Regions from separate parts of the Homo sapiens genome. Here region 2 is linked to region 1. Evidence: promoter capture Hi-C in 16 types of primary human blood cells and fetal thymus (Javierre and others, 2016). All regions are on one chromosome and are shown on one strand. Each heading gives the region's core, a stretch centred on a gene start or on the middle of the fragment in contact. The rest is flanking DNA. Distances are from core to core; before and after follow the strand shown.

Evidence for each region. Contacts are between HindIII fragments. The CHiCAGO score rates a contact against its expected background, and 5 or more counts as called.
Region 2: the fragment with the promoter of KLF7 here is called in contact with the fragment with the promoter of PIKFYVE in region 1 in 5 of 17 cell types (fetal thymus, total B cells, non-activated CD4 T cells and 2 more); the score reaches 11.3 in fetal thymus.

Annotation. Positions count from the first base shown.
Region 1 is chr2:208,263,737-208,268,675 of GRCh38, forward strand. It overlaps PIKFYVE (phosphoinositide kinase, FYVE-type zinc finger containing), which reads left to right and starts at 2,519. Exons shown (of 42, transcript NM_015040.4): 1 at 2,519-2,679. RefSeq lists an enhancer at 2,356-2,405 and a silencer at 2,536-2,805. The HindIII fragment of the contact is 8,601 bases long and covers 839-4,939 here.
Region 2 is chr2:207,164,057-207,168,995 of GRCh38, forward strand. It overlaps KLF7 (KLF transcription factor 7), which reads right to left and starts at 1,892. Exons shown (of 4, transcript NM_003709.4): 1 at 1,411-1,892. The coding sequence starts at 1,512. MIR7845 (microRNA 7845) reads left to right here and starts at 2,344; the gene lies at 2,344-2,442. RefSeq lists enhancers at 194-902, 1,504-1,603, 1,611-2,319, 2,320-3,027, 3,028-3,736 and 1 more and silencers at 2,094-2,733, 3,354-3,403. The HindIII fragment of the contact is 8,010 bases long and covers 1-3,265 here.

The sequences.
Region 1 (4,939 bases), core at 1,269-3,768:
GTGGGGTGGAGGTCGGGGGGGTTGGGGCAGAGGGTGGAGATTGCAGTAAGCCCAGATTGCACCACTGTACTCCAGCCTTGGTGACAGACTCCATGTCAAAAAAATAAAATAAAATGTGGTATATATATACGGTGGAACATTATTCAGCCTTAAAAAATAAGGAAATTCTGTCTTTTGTGACAACATGGATGAACCTGGGGACATTATGTTAAGTGAAATAAACCAGACACAGAAATATACCACAAGATCTCATATATATGGAATTTAAAAATGTTGAACTCATAGAAGTAGTGGGTAGAATGGTGGTTGCCAGGGGTAAGGGGTGGCGGAGAGAGAAAAAGAACAAAAAGTAAGATGTGCTCAAAAGGTAATGGAGGCATGTCAAATGGACTCAGGAGTCTGCTGGAAGGGGCTCACACCAGCCAAGGCGGGGACACCTGGAGCACAGAAATGAATAGTGGCAGTAATGAACTATAACATGTTGGAAAAAAATGAGTCCAAAGTCATACTAACCAATATAAAGAAAGAAAGAAAAAGATGGAACGCTATTAGTTGCAGTAAAATTCAACTAATACATACAGAGGAATAGAAGTATAATATCATCGAACAATAATTGATTCAGCAAGAATCCTAAATCTGTGCTTGAATGAAAGTTTTTGAGGAGGATATATACACAGACAAATAATCTCTCTACAGATAAAATTCATCTGGAATTAATTTTGGATGTCTAGTGTGAAGTGAGAATCTAAAATGATTTCTTTTGCAAAAACAGTAGCCCAGTTTTCAATCTCTTTTCCACAGAAATTAAACTGTAAGCTAATATAGATATTAGACGGTAAGCTTCTTGAGGACATGGACTGTGTAATGTTCACATATATTTTTATTTTTTAGGCTAGTCAAGTGAAGCAGTGGGATACGTTCATAATTCTATCCTTAGTGTAGTGCTTCTATAACTAACACACTGCAGGTTAAATTAGGGACTCAAAAATATTTGCGGAGTGCACTTTTTTTTTTTTTTTTTAAACCATAGATGGAGTTTCTACATACACTGCAGTCGTCGTGGCTGGGCAATTTATTCTTTTCATATGATCTCTGTACCTATTTCATACTTTATTGTAGGTTTATGAAATATTAACATAGGGTGATAATTACGAGGGCCTTTTTTGCTTATCTTAAATTTTTAAAAAAAATTTTTTTAAAGGAAGGCAGAGACTTGAGCATCTTTATGGGCTGAGGAGGCAGAGTCATTGGAAAAGGGGAGGTTGCAGATACGGTGCAAGCTCCCAGACAGGAGAGGGTGAATTGGGGGCCAAAAGGATTGAGCTGGGGAAGAAGAGGCCCCTTCCTCAGAGAGATGAGGGAGAAAGGCAGACCAGGGCAGATGTGGATGTAGGTAAATGTTGTGGTGTGTGGGGAATTAGCTTGTTAAGGGTCACGCCCAGATACCTTGGGATTTTTCACGTGGGTATAAAATATGATTCTCTGATGAGAATGATGGTCAAGGTAATGTGGGGGTCGTGGTGGTGGTCTGACGCAGCAGTAATAAGGAATGGGAGAAGCTGACTACAGACTCCCAGAAAGATTGCTGAAGGGCCCAGCTGAGGATGGTGACTGGGATTTGCACTGGACTCAACCTGCAGGTTTCGATGGTGCTTTCCAACTCCAGGAAAACTGGGCTGGGATTTGACAAAACTCTTGAGGAAAAGGACTCACAGAATTTAAAACTGCATTTCCCTTTAGGTTTCGTCTGCTTTCCATCCTCCCCTACCAAGCCCCACAACTGCGGCGAGCATGTTTTCTGCAGTTAACTGCACTGCGCTCTCAGCAGGACAGAAATGACGAATAACTCTAGCCAAGCTGAACAAGATAGGGCTTGGGCTTGGTAACTTTATTTGCATCAGCATTTGCAACACAACACCTAAATGAAAAAATTAACTATAAAGCCGACATCACTTACTCTGGGTCAGGGAACTGTGCCATTCGCTTTAAGTGCATTTACTTAATCTCAAAAAAGTATTAAGAAGTGAGTCCTTTTATTAATCCGACTTTACACACCAGAGGTCTAAGGCCTAAATAAATGAGCAATTTGCTTAAGATCATATGGCTGGTTATTGGTGGAGTCATGCAAGTCTGGAAACAGAGTCATCGCTAACTCCGGTTCAGTGCTACACGAGTGAACTGTCTACAACAAAGCAATAACATATTATGAGTGCCCACAGTATCGAACACATACGGTAACCGCAGTCCAGCCAGCACCCCTGCAGTGCCCAGAGCACCAAGCACCCATCCGTTGACCCCGCATGCGTGACGCTCACGCGCGCAGTCCCCCTGGCTTCTTCCAGGAAGGCTGAAGCGGCCTAATCTCGGCCAAAAGATCAGGACGACTCGATCTGGGCTGGACTCCTTCTGCCTGAGCATCTGATCCGAGCGTCGGCCGGGCTGGGAGGAGCCGGCCCCCGGGAAAGATTTCGGACTGGGGGACAGGAAAACAGAGGGCGGAGTCTTGGGGGGGGGAAGCGAGAAGCCGCATCAACCATGTAAGCAGCTTCGCTTCCTGCCGCAACCGTCCGCGGCCTGAGGAGCCCACCGCCGCTCTCGGGGGCCGACTTCCGGGGGCTGAGCCGTTGAAGCGGAGGCTGGGGCGGGGGGCAGCCGGCGCGGCCGGGGCAGGAGGCGCAGGTAAGGGAGGGGGCCTGGAGCTTGGCCGGCTGGGGCTCAGCATGGGAAGGAGGCCGGTATGGGGAGCTCCAGGGCCAGAGCTGAGGTGAAAGTGAGAACCAGGGCTCCGCAGTCGGGGGCTAGGGCCTGGCTGCCGGCTGAGCAAGGAAGGGCAGAGAATCTGGCTTTAGAATTAGCTTGTCCTCCCTATTCCCCGGCTGCCTTGTCTGGCGAGTGGGGACGGAAGCCGGGTGGGGCCCTTGAGATTTCCTTGGAAACATTTGAAGTTCCTTTGCCTCTCTCTCGACCCTTACGCCTGAACTTAATTAGGAGGGGAAGAGTACAGTTACTTTTCCCTCTGAGTGCATGAGTTCTGAGTTTGTCAGAGGCGCATCCGTAGGCTGGAAAAGAAAGTTCATGAGCTGCAGAAACGATACCAACCGTGGGGGTTCAAATAAGTGTTTGTCTTTTTAAATGCTTGCCTCTGCTATTTGAGACGATTCCATTTCAACTTAGGTTTTGGAGTTTCTTGAGGAGGAGCATTATTTCCCAATTAGTGTTTACCCTTTGCTTAGAATGTTCCCAACAAAAGGATGAGAATGGAATGTGTTGGAAACTTTTAGGACTTAGGGGTTTTCTGCCCAATCAGAGGTTATTCCTAAGACAGTCAAGAAATATAAGAAGTGCTAGAATTCTGTATAAAGCAAGTTATTCGTGTGTATCTGATGTGTATACATGATTCATTATCTACTATTGACGCAGTGCATCCTGTGTTGTAAAATATGTCCAGTGTTGACAATAGAGGTAGTCGCTTGGTATAATGTACTTATTTCTGATTTATTTGAGCCCCTTTTTTGGCACTCCAAAACTCCCACTCTGTCAGTTTTCTTACAAAAAATGTTCTTTCTTTTGTGTTTGTGACAAAGATTGTGTAGGTTAAATCTCTTCTGTGGAGCAAGGCTAATTTCCTGTGTTCTCCCTTTTTCTGCTTTCTGGATCCTGCTCTGGTTTTCCTTTAAGCGTGTTGGTCAAAAATTGAACAAGAAATCTTTGTTGATAGAAGCTAACATTTCCAATATTCAGCTTTCCTAAATTATTACATTGCCAGTTTTTTTTTTTTTTTTTTTTGAGAGACAGAGTCTCGCTCTGTCCCCCAGGTTGGAGTGCAGTGGCGCGATCTCCTCCGACTGCAACCTCCGCCTCCCAGGGTTCAGGCGATTCTCCTGCCTCAGCCTCCTGAGTAGCTAGATTGCAGGCGCGCGACACCACACTCGGCTAATTTTTGTATTTTTAGGGGAGACGGGGTTTCACCATGTTAGCGAAGCTGGTTTTGAATTCCTGACCTCAGGCGATTCACCCGCCTCGGCCTCCCAAGGTGCTGGGATTACAGGCGTGAGCCACCGGGCGGGGGTCTCCCTCCCTCGCCCAGGCTGGAGTGAAGTGGTGTGATCTCGGCTTACTGCAGTCTCCGCCTCCCAGGCTCAAGGGATTCTCCTGCCTCGGCCTCCCAAAGTGCTGGGATCACAGGTGTGAGCAGCCACGTCCGGCCTTTACTGACTGGCTTCTGATAGTTTGTAGTAGGTCTGCATATATTAGTAGCCTTAATTAGAAATGGTGAAGTATTGGTGATATATCAGAAGGCTTTGGGTAGGTAGGTTAATAGGACTGATTACCACTCAGGAAAGAGTCCTAATTTATATTTTAAAGCGTTGTTAAGCTGCTAAAGAGTGAGAGTTATAAGATAATTTTTTCAGGGCCCTAGTGTCATTATGTAATTATTAGGGTTAACTATATGATTGGGTTTATATTTCAGAGACTACACTTGCTAAGTGTTTTCATGGGAATTTTTATCTTCTTATTTCCAAAGCCGAGTATAATTTTTGTGTAGATAACCTTTAGAAGTAATTCTAAGACTCTTTAGGCAGAATGTCATCTCTGCCTCTGACATTACTTGTGTCAAAGTAGAATGTAGGCTGTTTTCCAGGGGTGGTTGTTACGGCCATCACATTATCGTTTCTCTCCAGAGCTCTTTTTTTTTTTTTTTTTTTTTTCCCTAAATAAAATAGAGATGAAGTCTCGCTATGTTGACTAGGCTGGTCTGGAACTCCTGGCCTCAAGCGATCCTCCCGTCTCAGCCTCCTAAAGTGCTGGGATTACAGACATGAGGCCACAGTGCCTGGCCTCTTTTTTTTTTTAATATAAAAAAAACACAAACTTTTTTTTGAGTGTATACTTATTCAGTTATCAGCTTACTTCCCAACACTTTTTGCTGAATTGTCAT
Region 2 (4,939 bases), core at 642-3,141, 1.1 Mb before region 1:
ATACCTGGAGGAAAACTCACAGCCTCTGACCAGAAGTGAACTAGCAACAATGGTACAGTTAAAGGATCCGCCTTGCCACTCGGCTCCTTATACCAAAAGCCAAACCTCTTTTGCTAAAGCAGAGACTGTTACATCTCAGCCTCAAGCTGGCAAATCCTGCTTTGGATCCCGGCAGAGGAAATTCAGCCGTTCATTAGCCTTAACAAGCTGCTGTCACTAAGCGAAGAAATTACACGAGCAGCCACACACCGAGCCTCTCACAGCCCTCCCCCCAAGGGCAAGCGGGTTTCTCCAGGACGGACTGTACAAGTTCACACTTCCTATGTGCAAATCCGGACTGTCTTCTTGGACTTTCCATGGTGCACACTGTACAATTTTTAAATACCCGTGTCCCCCCGCCCCCACCCACCATCTTTCCTGCAGAATGTCCCCTCAGCAGCTCCTAATCGCTGCTGAAAAAAACCACTGTTTCCGCAGCAGAGCCAGCACTTTCCACTGACCAGCACTTTCTTTATTCCACTTCACAAAGCCCAGTGAACTTGTCACCAGCCCCACTTCATCCTCCCTGGGACGGCTAGCCAACTTGGCATCGGTGCCCTTCAGCATCCTGGGAGTTTCTTAACTAGTCCTCTAAGACAAAGTCAAAGGCATGGAAGCACACATCAGCCTTTGTCCGAGGTTGTGCTGCCTAACTAGAGAAGGACCCTAAACAAAAAAGAGAAACAAGGACACGCATAGAGGGTGTTCTCTTTCTGGAGGGATCACACTGGGAAAACCTACAATTCATTGTCAGCCTCAGCTACATCTTCCCGTCCTCCTTGAGTATCTTTTGTCAGTGGGCTCTTCTCTCTTTTGCCTACCTTCTAATCTCAAAATCAAGCTCCTATTCTTTATTGACACTCGCTAATTACTGAAAAACACTCCGCTTTGCTCCTGCCCACCCTCCCCCGCCCCCCATCCGATGGTCATAAGCACCAGTTGAAACAGATGAACCTGATTTCAGGTATCAAGTGGGTAGAGCTCATGCATGCGAGAACGTGGTCCCTGTCAGCAATCGCTCCTAACACCCCAAACCACCTTCCCACCCGGCTCCTCCGAACCCCAGAAGTTCGGCAGGTCTCTGATAGGGGACAGCAAACCCGACAACGTGTGCGCAGGGATGTGTGTTGGCGACTGAAACGCAGGCAGCTCGCACCGGCTGCTCAGCTCGGCACTCTACGAGGTTAGGGGTGGGTGGAGAGGTAAGCGCAGATGACTGTTTCAGAAAACATTTTCAACAACAGACAGCCAAAAAGGAAGAAAAAAAAGTCAAACAAACAAACAAAAATTTCAACCCAGAGCCCACACCAACGCAGCCCCTGCGTCTCCGCCGCCACCACACGATTTACACAAGTAATTTAAATCATTCACCTGCTGCCAGGTCTCCTCCAGGGATGGTAAAGCTGAGAAGTAGCCGGTGTCGTGGACAAGTTGTAGCTCCTGGAATATACTATAACTAGCCAACACGTCCATGCTGCTGCTGCCGGGCAAAACGGGAGGCGAAACCCTCCCCCGAACACAGTTGGGGCTGTTTGTTTGTCAGTCTGTCTGGCTCACCCCCCAAGAAGGCAGACATCCAGTGGCCCTTTTGTTTTGTTTTGTTTCAGTCAACTAAAAAGGAAAAAAAAAAATCAATGCAGGAGAGGGAGAGAGGAGGTGAGAGAGGAGCGAGTGAGTGGGGTGGATGGAGAGAGGCATCCAGCGTGTACAGTGCAGACGACTGCCAGGAAAAGGGGACTTCTCCACGGGAGTAACAATTCCCTTCCAGGGCTCTAATCACTCCAGCTCGTGGATCAGGAAGGGGGATGCAAACTCACTGACACGAAGCTGCCATCTATTTCTGCAGCGCTGTTCGCTCCTAATGCAATCTTTGCTCTTTATTTTGGGAGGTTGCATTTTTTTCTCTCGCGATCGCTTCTCTTCCCCCCCCTTCCCTTCCCTCCCCACCCCCCACCCCATCCTTGCTAGTTTGTAGTCTTCCCCCTCCCTTTTCTCCTCCTCCTGCTCTTCCCCCTCCCCAAACTCCCTCCCTCCGTTCGGTTCTCCGCGCAGCCGTGGGATCTCGAGGAGGGCGTCCATTAGGCCGCGTGTGACCATGTAAGGTAAACAGGGGGCTCATGAAGTCACTGAGGACCAATGGGGAGCCCGGAGCAGAGCCTGGGGCGGGGCTTGGCCCTGGCGGCGGGCGCGGATTGGCACGCTGCGGATCTCCCTGCTGCCTTACAAGGCGGTGCGAGGCGAGCTATTTTTAGAGGGCTATATAAGGGGGCTGAGGCGGCCGCCCGGCGGCCGGGCAGCGCGAGCGCAAGGGACAGGGAGGGTCGTGGCGACACTCGCGCCAGCTCCCGGGACGGCTGGGCTCGGGCTGGTCGCCGACCTCCGACCCTCCACTAGATGCCTGGCAGAGCCCGGCGCGTCCGGAGCCCGCGCCCCTCAGAGGGAAGGGGTCGCGCGTCGCCGCGGCGGCCCTGAGGCTGACGGTCGGGAGGTGAAAGGCCGGAGTGCGGGGTCAGGACGCCTCCTGGAGGGGGCGCGGCGCAGGGGGCCGCGGGGAAGCCGCCGAGGGCGCGGAGCGGGAAGGAAGGACAGTGGCCACCCCGCCTCCGCCTGGGCACGGGGCAGGGACCCGCGCGAGGCGGTGCCGGGGAGGTCCTCACGTACTCAAAAACAAGCAGAAAAGGCATCCAGGGCCCCTTCCCGAACTCCCCACGGGCTGCCAGGGTGCAGAGAAGAAGCGCCTGAGGAGGAAGTGCCACACAATGGGAGAGAACAAAGGGGAGCGGAGCGAGACCGCGGCCTGCGCCCGCCCCCCGCTTGCGCACAGTCCCCGCCCCGCCCCGCGGGCGCCGCCGCCGCCGCCCTCCCTCCCGCGCCTCCTTCTGACCCCGAGCGAGAGACCTGGTCGGGAGTCCGGCGGCTAGAGTTGATTGCAAGGGGCCTGTTGCTCGACTGTGCGTTAAAGAGGCTAGAGGGAGCCTAGGTAGACGTGGGGCGCAAGCTGGAGCCGGCAGCTTGCGAGGGGGCCTTTACGTGATGAGGCTCACCATGGGGTCTCCAGCGAGGTGTCTGCAGAGCTTCGATGGTGAGAGGAGGAACTCGATTTCTCGTTTTCTGGAGTTGGGATGTAGACATAGAGAGATCTGTTACATCTGAGATGAAAACCCTGCACAATTCACGTTAGGGTTGGCCAATTGTTTGCTTGACCTTAAATGGTTAGTGTGGTTTAAGCTTCCCCAAAATGCGCTGTGAGCTGAGCTTCCACTTTTGGAATGATTGCAGAATTCGGTGCTTAAGAGATGAGAAACTTCGTTCTACCAGTAATGGAAGAAACGCTTCACCTTAATCACCCTCCTTGTCTTTCCCCTCCCTTTGACTATGTAGGACTCGATAACACAACATTTGAAAGATTCTACTCTATGAAATAAGCACAGATTGAAATTCAGTATTTGCCAAGGAATATTAAACATGAATTACTGGGATTGAGGAAAGCCTGATTTATTTACTTGTTAGTGTCTGGAATTCTGTTGGCCAGATTCATAGCATTCATTGTATGAGTATAATTGGAACATTTACTCTAATGTAGATGCAGATGCATCTGCAATTAGATGTGCAAGGACGCTGCCAGCTAACTAGCTGCACGACTTTGAGCGAATTACTGGGTCAGAACTTGTATCTACCCATCTCAGAAACAGAAATAGTGGGATCCGCGTTGTCTAGTTGTTATGAAGAGTCAAAATATCTTTGGTAACTCACCTAGCATAGTATCTGACACTATTAGGTGAATACTAAATATTAGCTATCATTGTCTCCCCACTTGAGCTATGTAAACTAATAGGACCTTTAGGAGAATATACTATTAATAGAATCTTGGAGATAGAGGAAAGGTAGAAACCCCTTGCTAGTTTGTTACAAGGTCTCCCCTTCTCCATGCTCTCCCCTGACCCCCATGCTATTTCAACTGGGGGGATGGGCAGGAACCATTGAGAAACACTAGGGCAAAAAACATGTTCATGAATAATAGGGGAAGGAAAGGAACTTGGGTATAGAAAACTAGAGGCAAAAGGTGAGGCAAGACCAACCATATAATTTGGTACTTGAGACTCAAGTGAACTTATTTTGTGTGTGTTACATTATAACAATTTTTGAATAAAATAGGACATATCGGTTAACGTGAGTTTGAAGATTTTACAAATAATAGTTCCCATTTATTAAGCACTTCGAATGTGCCGTATGCGCATAAACACTTTATATGCAATGTCTCATTTAATCTTAAGGACAGCCCCAAAGTATCCCCAACTTTATGGATGAAGATACCCACGCTTGGAAATACTAAGTAAGTTGGTCAAGGTCTCACAACCTGGAAGTGGTCAAGCAGGGGTTCAAATCCAAGAGCATCTGACTCCCCACACTGTTCTGTACTGAGCTTTGTATGGTGAAAAATGGGGTTCCTCAGCTTTAAGTCAGTGTGTGTTTACAAAAATTGCTTGGGTGGGGCCGGAGGAGGAGGCTTCCATTGAGACTTTTCCTATGTAACTATCAGCCGTCTGACTTGCAAAAGGACTCAACCAAAATTTTACAAAGCAAATACTGCAAACCTCATTATGGTCTTTGCTCCAAGCTTTGTAGAATATTTTAGATTCATTTTAAGAGATTTATGCAGCAAGGCATTCTGAAAGGCACATTTTCAATATTAGTTATATTTAGCTACTTTTTATACCCTAGAGACCCAAGATTCACATTGCAAAACACATGCAAGGTATCCAGATGTACAAAGTAATCAACAAATTAAGATCACAAGAGAACTTTGGCAGTTCAGCAAACCAAAATAAACTGCACTGTTGTAACTACCACTTACTGGTTGATTACCTTCTTTGTACCTAGCATTTTACACATACCTCTG